Regions from separate parts of the Homo sapiens genome. Here all the other regions are linked to region 3. The links are contacts of gene promoters, found by promoter capture Hi-C in human tissues and cell types (Jung and others, 2019). All regions are on one chromosome and are shown on one strand. Each heading gives the region's core, a stretch centred on a gene start or on the middle of the fragment in contact. The rest is flanking DNA. Distances are from core to core; before and after follow the strand shown. Region 1 overlaps RBFOX3 (RNA binding fox-1 homolog 3). Region 2 overlaps RBFOX3 (RNA binding fox-1 homolog 3). Region 3 holds the start of C1QTNF1-AS1 (C1QTNF1 antisense RNA 1).

What was found. The method cuts DNA at HindIII sites, captures the fragments that hold promoters and counts their contacts. A contact is called where the count stands out against the background at its distance.
Region 1: a contact is called between a fragment that was not itself captured here and the fragment with the promoter of C1QTNF1-AS1 in region 3, in 3 of the 25 tissues and cell types used here (liver, lymphoblastoid cells and thymus).
Region 2: a fragment that was not itself captured here is called in contact with the fragment with the promoter of C1QTNF1-AS1 in region 3 in 3 of the 25 tissues and cell types used here (dorsolateral prefrontal cortex, lymphoblastoid cells and mesendoderm cells).

Annotation. Positions count from the first base shown.
Region 1 is chr17:79,094,271-79,097,152 of GRCh38, reverse strand. RBFOX3 (RNA binding fox-1 homolog 3) reads left to right here. Exons shown (of 15, transcript NM_001350451.2): 12 at 320-500; 13 at 1,579-1,640; 14 at 2,624-2,702. Among named protein-coding and RNA genes, the nearest start is that of ENGASE, 21 kb to the right of the region's middle. The HindIII fragment of the contact is 6,672 bases long and covers 1-2,882 here.
Region 2 is chr17:79,147,989-79,150,899 of GRCh38, reverse strand. All of the region lies in intron 4 of RBFOX3 (RNA binding fox-1 homolog 3), which reads left to right. Among named protein-coding and RNA genes, the nearest start is that of ENGASE, 75 kb to the right of the region's middle. The HindIII fragment of the contact is 7,480 bases long and covers 1-2,911 here.
Region 3 is chr17:79,026,373-79,029,125 of GRCh38, reverse strand. C1QTNF1-AS1 (C1QTNF1 antisense RNA 1) reads left to right here and starts at 1,471. Exons shown (of 3, transcript NR_040019.1): 1 at 1,471-1,750. All of the region lies in intron 1 of C1QTNF1 (C1q and TNF related 1), which reads right to left. The HindIII fragment of the contact is 4,721 bases long and covers 1-1,493 here.

The sequences.
Region 1 (2,882 bases), core at 1-2,500, 68 kb before region 3:
CTCAGCCCTGCAGCTGCCTCCATTATCTTCACCCCTATCCCCACCACGGCGGGCATCGCGGAGGTCACTGGCATTTAGGGGGACATTCAGAGCCCCAGAACCTTGTCTGGATGCTTTAATGGGGCCGTTGTCCACTCTTGAGGTCAGCGAGGGGCTTCTCTGAGCCCTCTCTGCTCCCATTCCCTGGGGTCTGGTGCCCTCCATCACTAAAGGGGTGGGGGGCACAGCTGCCTGGGGTCGGGTGGGCTATGGGCCCCGGGGTTTGTGGGAGAAAGTTGCTGATCAGCAAGGGTGTTACTCTATTGTTATACCAAAACAGGGCACTGGAGCAAACGCTTGTTAAAATGCCAGTCCCATGGGCGGGGCTGGCACCGTGCCCCCTCCCTCCTCAGCAGACACCGGAGCCGGCCTACCCCACCTCTCCAGCGTTCCCACCACTTTCTTGTCCGTTTGCTTCCAGGGTCGTGTATCAGGATGGATTTTATGGTGCTGAGATTTATGTAAGTGTAGCCCCGCCGGGAGGGAGGGTGGGATCAGGCGTTCTGTGGGTCTCAATGAGAAGTCGGCGTCTCCTCTCTCACTGCCCGCTCCTCCCATCCCATCCCATCCCACCCTTGAAGCCAGGAGGGCGAGGGTGCCACGTCTGCCCAGAGTATGGCATCCCTGAGAATCCCAGCATGGCACAGTTTGGTTGTTGGTACCCATCAAGGGAGCAGTTAATGGGCCGCCCAGCAGCCCTGTGAGCTGAAACCATCTTCCTGTGGGCAAGGCCTCATATAATGGGGGCAGTGGGACTCTGCCACGTCCCTAACCACGCTGCGGTCAGTGAGTGAGCCCCTAAGGCACCCACAGCACGGGCTGCAAGAGGGGCCAGGAGGCAGGGCCCCTGGGTGCCTGTGCTCCAGGGCCTACCCCCCTTGATGGGGTCCGGTGGCCTTTCTCCCCCTTCATGGGGCCACATGTGCTGCTTCCTCTGTCTCAGACTCACTGACGGCCACACCCCATGTACCCAGCCACCCTTCAGTCCTGGGCAGCTGCCTACAATTCAGTTACCTGCCCATTTGAGGCCAGGACATCATCTGAGCTCACGTCCTCTTGTGCCCTTTACCCTTGACCCTTCCTGGTGTCCAGGACACTATCCAGAGTCACTGTGGGTTCTCCCAGCCCCTCAGCATCCAAGTCAGGCCTCAGTGGCCTGGTGGCAGGTCTGTGAGCACCTCTTCCTTGCCAAGGCCTAGCACCCAGCCAGATGAGTCATGGGTACCCGCTAATGTGTGTGGAGTGCACAGATGGATGTGTGAATGAATGAGTGAATGAATGGAGTGGACAGGCAGACCTGCCTCGCCCTGAACTGTGCCACCTAGCCATCTGCAGTCCTCGGTCCTGTGTTAGACCAGAACTAGGTGCCCAGGCCAGGTACCACCTAATCCTTACCCAGCCGAGGCTGGGAGGCTGGGAAGGTCTGTAGTCCCTCCCAGGGCCCCACCCGCACAGGGTCTGTCTCCTCTCCCCACTCAGCCTTTCCCTGGGGAGCCCCACTAAGTCCCTCTGCTCTCTCTCCTCCCACTTACCCTGCAGGGAGGCTACGCAGCCTACAGATACGCTCAGCCCGCTGCAGCGGCGGCAGCCTACAGCGACAGGTGAGGCCGGGGGCCAGCACTGTTCTGGAGCAGGGTGGGGAGAAGATGGACAAGGATCCCTGGGGAGCTGGGCCCAGACAGGCAGGAGGCGTAACCCACTCTTCCAGGCCTGGCGGGAGTAGGGTCGGGACAGGGGAGCAGGTCTGAGTGTGGCCCTTGAGCCAGTGAGCCCCTGACTTCAGTCACTTCCTGCTTACCCCATGGGGAGGCTGTGGAAACCCCAGGTGGAGACCGCATCTCTGATTCCCAGTCCCCCCACCGCCCCCCGCAAGCCCCGTGCCCACAGTGGCTGTCTGTCTTGGAGGCAGACGCTTGAGTGCTTCCTCCTGGAGCAACCTAGCCTAGTGCCTTTCCCCTCAGACATCTGGCCTGTTGGTAGCTGAGCTCCACCACTCTGGTCTGGGGACCGCTTGTACCCCCTCCCTCCTGGCAGCCCCGGCTCCATCTCCCTGAAGTGTGGTGTACAGGGTGCCGTGGCCCAGCTCTGCTCTCTAAGGAGCTGAGAGTTCCCTGCACAGACAAACTGCTGAAGGGAAAGTCGTGAGGGACACAAGTGTCACATTCTTGGGGGCAGTGTTCCTGGTCCCTCCTCGTTGACCCTCTCTCTTCTCTTGAAACCCTCCCCAGTATTTACCACATTCTTTTTGGGGTGGAAGTTTGTTTTCCCTGCAGACGAGCTCCATGAGGACACCATCCCCCTCCACGTAGCACTGAGTGGAACACACCCCCTCCCCCCACCCCGTCAGGGTCAGCACACTGTGGGCATATTGAGAGGGTTGCCTGTTGTGTTCCAGAAGCTTCCTTCTTAACAAGAAGGAGGGGTAGGCCTTGCAGGCCTTGCAGGAGGGGAGGGTGCCTTGCAGATGGGACCTCGGTACAGGGTGCCCATGTAGTGTCTGGGAGGAGGTGGGAGGCCGTTGCTGCCCCTCACCTGCCCCCCTCCCCCACCCTCCTCCCACTCCCCCTCCCACGCTCTTCCCTAGTTACGGCAGAGTCTACGCAGCTGCCGACCCGTACCATCACACCATCGGGCCCGCGGCGACCTACAGCATTGGAACCATGGTAAGGAGCCCAGGCCCGCCCAGCCCTGGGTGCCAGTCCTAACAGCTGGGCATGGGTGGTGAGGCCCTTGGGGGAGAGGCCGAGCCCTCTGACCAATGCCTTGGTCCCGGAGACTTTGGAAGGACCACGGCCTGGATGTGAGTTAGGGTGAGGGGAGGGCTGGCCCCTCACGCCCTCTCA
Region 2 (2,911 bases), core at 154-2,653, 120 kb before region 3:
GGCATGAGCAAGCCCTCGTCCTCCCATTGCGCACACGGGGACACTGAGGCTCGAGCTGAGGTGACCCCCCTGAGGCCCCATGGCCAGTCAGAGGCACCCTGTGGCCTCTGCAGTTCCCTGCCCCCCTCTTTTCTCGGAAGTGCCCATCCCTACCTGCCTCTTCTCTGGCTAAGAATGTGGGGCAGGTGTGGGGTTGCTGGGGAAAGGAGGAGATGGGAGGTGAATCTGTTGCCCCTGCCCCTGGCAGGCCTGGCCTTGCCCCCAGAGGTGGTCAGGTATCCCCTACTTCAGTGACAGCTCTGGTGGCCCTGCACCTCCCATTGTCTCCCCTGGTTCTCAAAGAAGTTGAGCCAGCGCGGCCACCTGTAGAGTGTCCGGCAGTTCAGCTGCCTCCTATCTTGAGTGATGGGCAGGCGGGACCAGGGTGAGGTTGAGGCACTGAAGGAACCTCCTGGGCTGGGGAACAGGGTATGGGGGTTGCGGATGGAGCTGAGTTAGGGGGTTGGCCGCCTGCAGAGCCCAGAGAACGGCCAGGCCTCTACTGTCTGCGTGTCCCAGGCCCACAGCAGCCACTCTGCCCCTTGACCCAGAGCGTCCTACCCAAGCAGAGTGGCCTGGGCCCCAGCCAGGACCCCCCACGAGGCTTTGTGCCTTGAGGGCCTCAGTCTCCTGGGACGTGGCTGCTGCTCTAGGTCGTGGCCCACAGCTGCCGCCCACCGCTGCCCACCACCCTCTTGTCCTGACCTCAAGGGCAGCTCCTGGTTGCCCCTCCCCTGTGGATACCTGAGAGTCCCTCCTTGTCTGCCTCCAACTAGATCCACCCCAAACCCCCACCCTCAACCCCCATCCCCATCCCCCACCCCCACCCCCCACCCTCAACCCCCATCCCCATCCCCCACCCCCACCCCCATCCCCATCCCCACCCTCAGCCCCCATCCCCATCCCCACCCTGGCACTTAGCCTGAGTCCTCAGCGCAGCCACTGTCACTGCTTATTATAACACCTGTCCCCCTCCTGTCTCCAGGCCCCAGAGGAGGAGGCTGGCAGCCATCTCTGTCCCCTCACCCTGGCACTCAGAGATGCTCAGTGGAAGCTCAGCTCATGGCGATGCCCAGCAGCCGCCCTGCCCTGTCCTCCCAGGACCTGCAGGTCCGTTTACTGACCCCACTCGACATCCCAGGGTCTTGGGTCCGACAAAGTGAGAGAAGGCCTGAGCGGGCGGGCATGAGCCCCTAGGCCACCCCCAACCTTCTGCAGTGTGTGGGGACGGTCCAGCTGGCGGGGAAGGCAGTGGTCAAGCAGTCCCGAAGGAGGAATCGTCCACGGACCCCCCCAGGCACACTTCCCACTGCCCCACCCACTTCACAGCCTGAAGCTCCTCCCCACAGCCCACCAAAGTCCTTCTCACTGAGGCCAGGTCCACTCTCGTGTCCAGCCCTGCTCCTCCCCCAGGACAGCAATGCCCGTGTTCCAATCCAACGAGTGGGGAGAGCCACCAGGAGGGGCCGGGGCTGGGCCTGAGCCAAGCCCCCCTTTGTCCTCCCCCGTGCCCCCACTCCCCCCACTGCCTGCATCTGGGCTCCCCGTGGCTGCACCGGGCCAGGGAGGGGTCCCGAGATGCTGCCTCCCACGCTCTACTAAGCCCCAGATGGATGCCCTGCCACCTTCCCAGGCCTTTGCTAATTTGGAAACACCATCCCTGGTGTAACCCCGGCAATAATAGCACAGACGTCGCATTTTCCTGGCAGGCAGCGGGGGTCCCAGCCTGGGTGCTGCGGGAGCCTCCATGCCCTGGAGGATCTCCTTGTGCTTCTTAAGCTTTAGAGTGCGCTGTTCGTCAGTGGTGGGAGCTGCAGGCTGAGTGTTTGAATCCCACCCAGTCCAAGCCCAGAACAGCATGAGGGTTTTATGGTTAGCGTTTCTTGAATGAATTATTCCAGCCCCTTGAAGTTCCTGGAGAAAGCCCCAGGCTGTCCCCCTCCATCCCCCATGACCTTACAAACTCAGGACCTGATCAGTGCCAGCGAGGGTGGTCTCAGCCTTTCCCATCCTCTGGGGACTTTGGCCTTAGCCTACCCCAGCCAGGCCCGCAGAGGCCCTCGGAGGCTGCAGGGAGCCCCGGCGGGGTCGGCCTCCCTCCCCTGCGTCCTCAGACTCTGTGGCCTGTGCTTCTGGGATAGAGTCGCCCAACTCTCATCACTTCCAGGAAGCAACTGCCTCATGTCGGGCACTGAGATTAGATCTTGGTCTTAGTTTATTCTCAACAACCTGTAAGGTGGCCCCAACTACTGTTAGCCTCAGTTGAAGACTAGGAAGCGGATACCCAGAGAAGTTCAGTGGCCTTCGGGAGGCACTCAGTGGCCGGGGACAGAGGCAGGATTGGAACCATGGTCTGGGGGGGTGTGGGGTGCTTCTCCCTCCTCCTGTGGCTCAAACCTGGGTTTGGCTTCAGGCTGTGGCATGAGCCCTGCCCCTTCCACCCCCCAACTTCTGTCACCCAGGCCCCAGCAGTGGGGCACAGGGCATGTTTGAGCTTCTAGAAACATCTAGACTTGGACCCGCCCCAAGCCAGGAAAGAGTTTCTGAGTGAGGCCTGCAGGAGGCAGCCGAGAGGCTTGGGAAGGGACCTTGGGAGGCTGGAGAAGGGACTGTGGGTGGGAAACGGGACCCCAGTCCTCCAACCAGAATGGAGACTCCAGGCACAGAACACAGCTGCAAGGAGTGTTAGCCATGACCGCTCCCAAAACCTAGAGAGGCTACCGTGTTCCTGTCTGCCAGACACCTGTCTCTGGGTCTTTAGGGCCGCACGCACCCTGGGGTCCCACGGTGAGGAAATCTTGGTCACAGGCCAGAGCCTGGCCCTGTACATCCGCCCTCCCCCCGGGGCCCCACGGCAGCGGCGGCTCTGGAT
Region 3 (2,753 bases), core at 222-2,721:
AGCCCTTGCATTCATCATTCAACAGAGGATTACCGAGTGCCCACTACATGCCAGGTATGGTATGGGGTACCAGGGAAACCTGTAACCATCTTCCTTGATGCAATGTGCTAAGATATCCCTGGTGCCAGCCTGCTAGCATCTTAAAATACACCACCGGAGTTTAATTCCTTTGGATTTAGGCACAGGATCACCAGGAACACCCGCGCGTGCATGCACACACACACACACACACACACACACACCTTAAAATGTGAGGGGCTTGGGCAGTGTGGCCCATCGGATGTGCATTTTTAGGGCACTGCTTTTGTAGGGTGAAGAGACACCAGCATGCTGGCAAGCTCTGAAGAAGGGAGGAAAAGACCCATGTGCTGGGGTACAGATGATTTTTCTCTCCCGACCAGTGCCCTCTAATGGGCACAAGCAGACCTGAGCTCTGAGTTGCAAAGGAATCTAAGTTCACGCACCACACGGGGAGGACCCTCAGGACCATGGGCCTTGCCCTCATTGATATCCTTTCATGGAGGAGGGGGCTCCCCTGAATGCCAGAGGACGCAAGAGACCTGTGGTCACCCCCTAACCCACCCAGATCCTTCCATCTCTCACTTTAGATTCTTTACAAGGAGAATGGGTCTAAGCGTTTTCTGAACACACCTCTGTCCCCAGCTCTGAAGACTGGCCCCAGGAACCTGTGGGCAGAGTCAGGGGGCCCTGCCCGCCTTCTGACCTACATCTGCCTCGAACCCACCCAGGGCTGGCAGCTTTCCCAGCAGCTTCCCTGCTCCCCAGGGCAGAGGGTGGCTGTTATCCAGATGTCTTGCTGAGGGGGATGGGTACAACCCAAAGCATAGGGTTTGGGGCATTCCACCAAGTGTGGCTTTAGCCGTGGCCAAGAACAACATTTGACCCAGCACAGGGCACCAAGAACTTGACTTCCCCATGCCCCGCCTGCCTGTCTGCCTCTTCTCCTCCTCCCCTCGACTCCTGCCTCCCTGCCTGCCGTCTCCTGCTCTACTCTGTCTCGTGTCAAGGAAAATTCCTACAGGAGCCAGGGAGATGGGCAGACACCGGCCCGGCCACAGCCGTCCCGACGGCCGTCCTGGACAGGATGGGGGCCCGGGGAGGGGCCTGCAGTCTGTGCCAGCCCCATCTGAAGCTGGAGAACGGCTTAGATCCAGGGGGCCTCAGAGGCAAGATAGCAGTGCCCTGGTGTACAGTGGGGACTGTGGGGGTCCCCGTGCCCCTGCTGGAGACCATCCCCCTTTGAACCACATTCAGATGCCAAGCCCAGCTCTGGAAATCAAATGTAGGCAAGAACAGGCAGCTGGAGGGGTGCTGATTTGCCAAGAGCCACTCATATCACCCCAGCACAAGTGTCACACAGCCGTGACCTTGACAAGGACCCAGAGATAAAGATCCTTCCCACATGGCTCCGAAGCCCCTCCCTTCCTGCTCACACCGCATGCCTCTCCCAGAGAACTAGAGGCTGCAGCGGCAGCAGTTGGAGCATCTCACTGCGGGGCTCGGGAAGGAGGAAAGGAGTGAGCATGTCCTGCTCCTGCATGTCCCTGCTTAAGCTCAGGACTGGCCCTTCCAGGCCAAGGACCCCAGCATAGACCCCAGGACAGGGCCCCAAGGATCCCTGGCTCATGAGAGCGGCTTGCTGGGCTGCCCCAAGAGAGCCTGAAGGAAACACATTGTTGAGCTGAGCTGACGTCGCTGTTTCTTCCAGACTGCTCTCTAAAGTGGGCAGGTGAGTTCTTGCCCTGTATGAAGGGGTCAGGGAGATGGCAGGGTCCTGTCCAGAGAGCTGCCTTGTGCCATTTGACACCAGCAGGCCAATTTCAGCAGGTTAACAGGGGAAATGGCAACCTGTGGCCCATGAGGGAGTGCCCCCACTTGAACATCTCTAGAGGCTACTGATTGTCAGGCAGAGGTGGGATCGTCCAGGGGATGGTGTAACCTGCTACTTCTTCCTGCCCTTCCTGGTGTCCGTCACCCCCACCCCTTCCCTAAGGTTCTGGAGCCTCAGCCACAGCCCCCCCCCGCCCAGGAACAGGGACCCCTGAGGACAAGACACAAATGGGAAGCTCCAGTCCCTGCGCACAACTGTATCTATGAAATTCTTTTCATCTTTGTTTTGATGAGCAAAGTTCAATGCCAGAATATTTGGTTTATGAGTCATGCTAATTACAGCTGGGGGGAGGCACCAGGAAGAAGAACAGAAAGGAGCATGTTCCAAAAACACTCTGTTGTCCTGGTTGCCCTGAAAAGGGGGGTCACTTCCTAGGAACAAGGAGGGAACCCATGGCCTTCCTGGGACAGCTTGGGCTTTCTCTGCTCCTACTTGGGAGGACGTCCCTCGCCAGCTGGCTGCACCTGCCTGGGAGGGGCAGTGGTGTCCTGTAGCCGCACAGCGCCCACCTAGGGCTTCCTGCACCATGCTTCCTGCCTCCCTGAATGAGCTCACTGGGGACACCACCCTTGGCAACACAAGAGGAGGAGAGGGAGGCGGGAGGAGAAGTAGAGAGTCCCTGGGTAGCGGACCTGTGTCCTTCCTGCCCCTGGGCATTCTCTGTTAGCAGCTGGGAGAGAGAAGTTCCCAGCATCAGCTTGGCGAGCTGAGTGCCATGTTCCCAACACCAGATAGGAAGGTTAAAAGTATACGCCCCGGAGGCCAGGCGCGGTGGCTCACCCCTGTAATCCCAGCACTTTGGAAGGTTGAAGCGGGTGGATCACTTGAGGTCAAGAGTTTG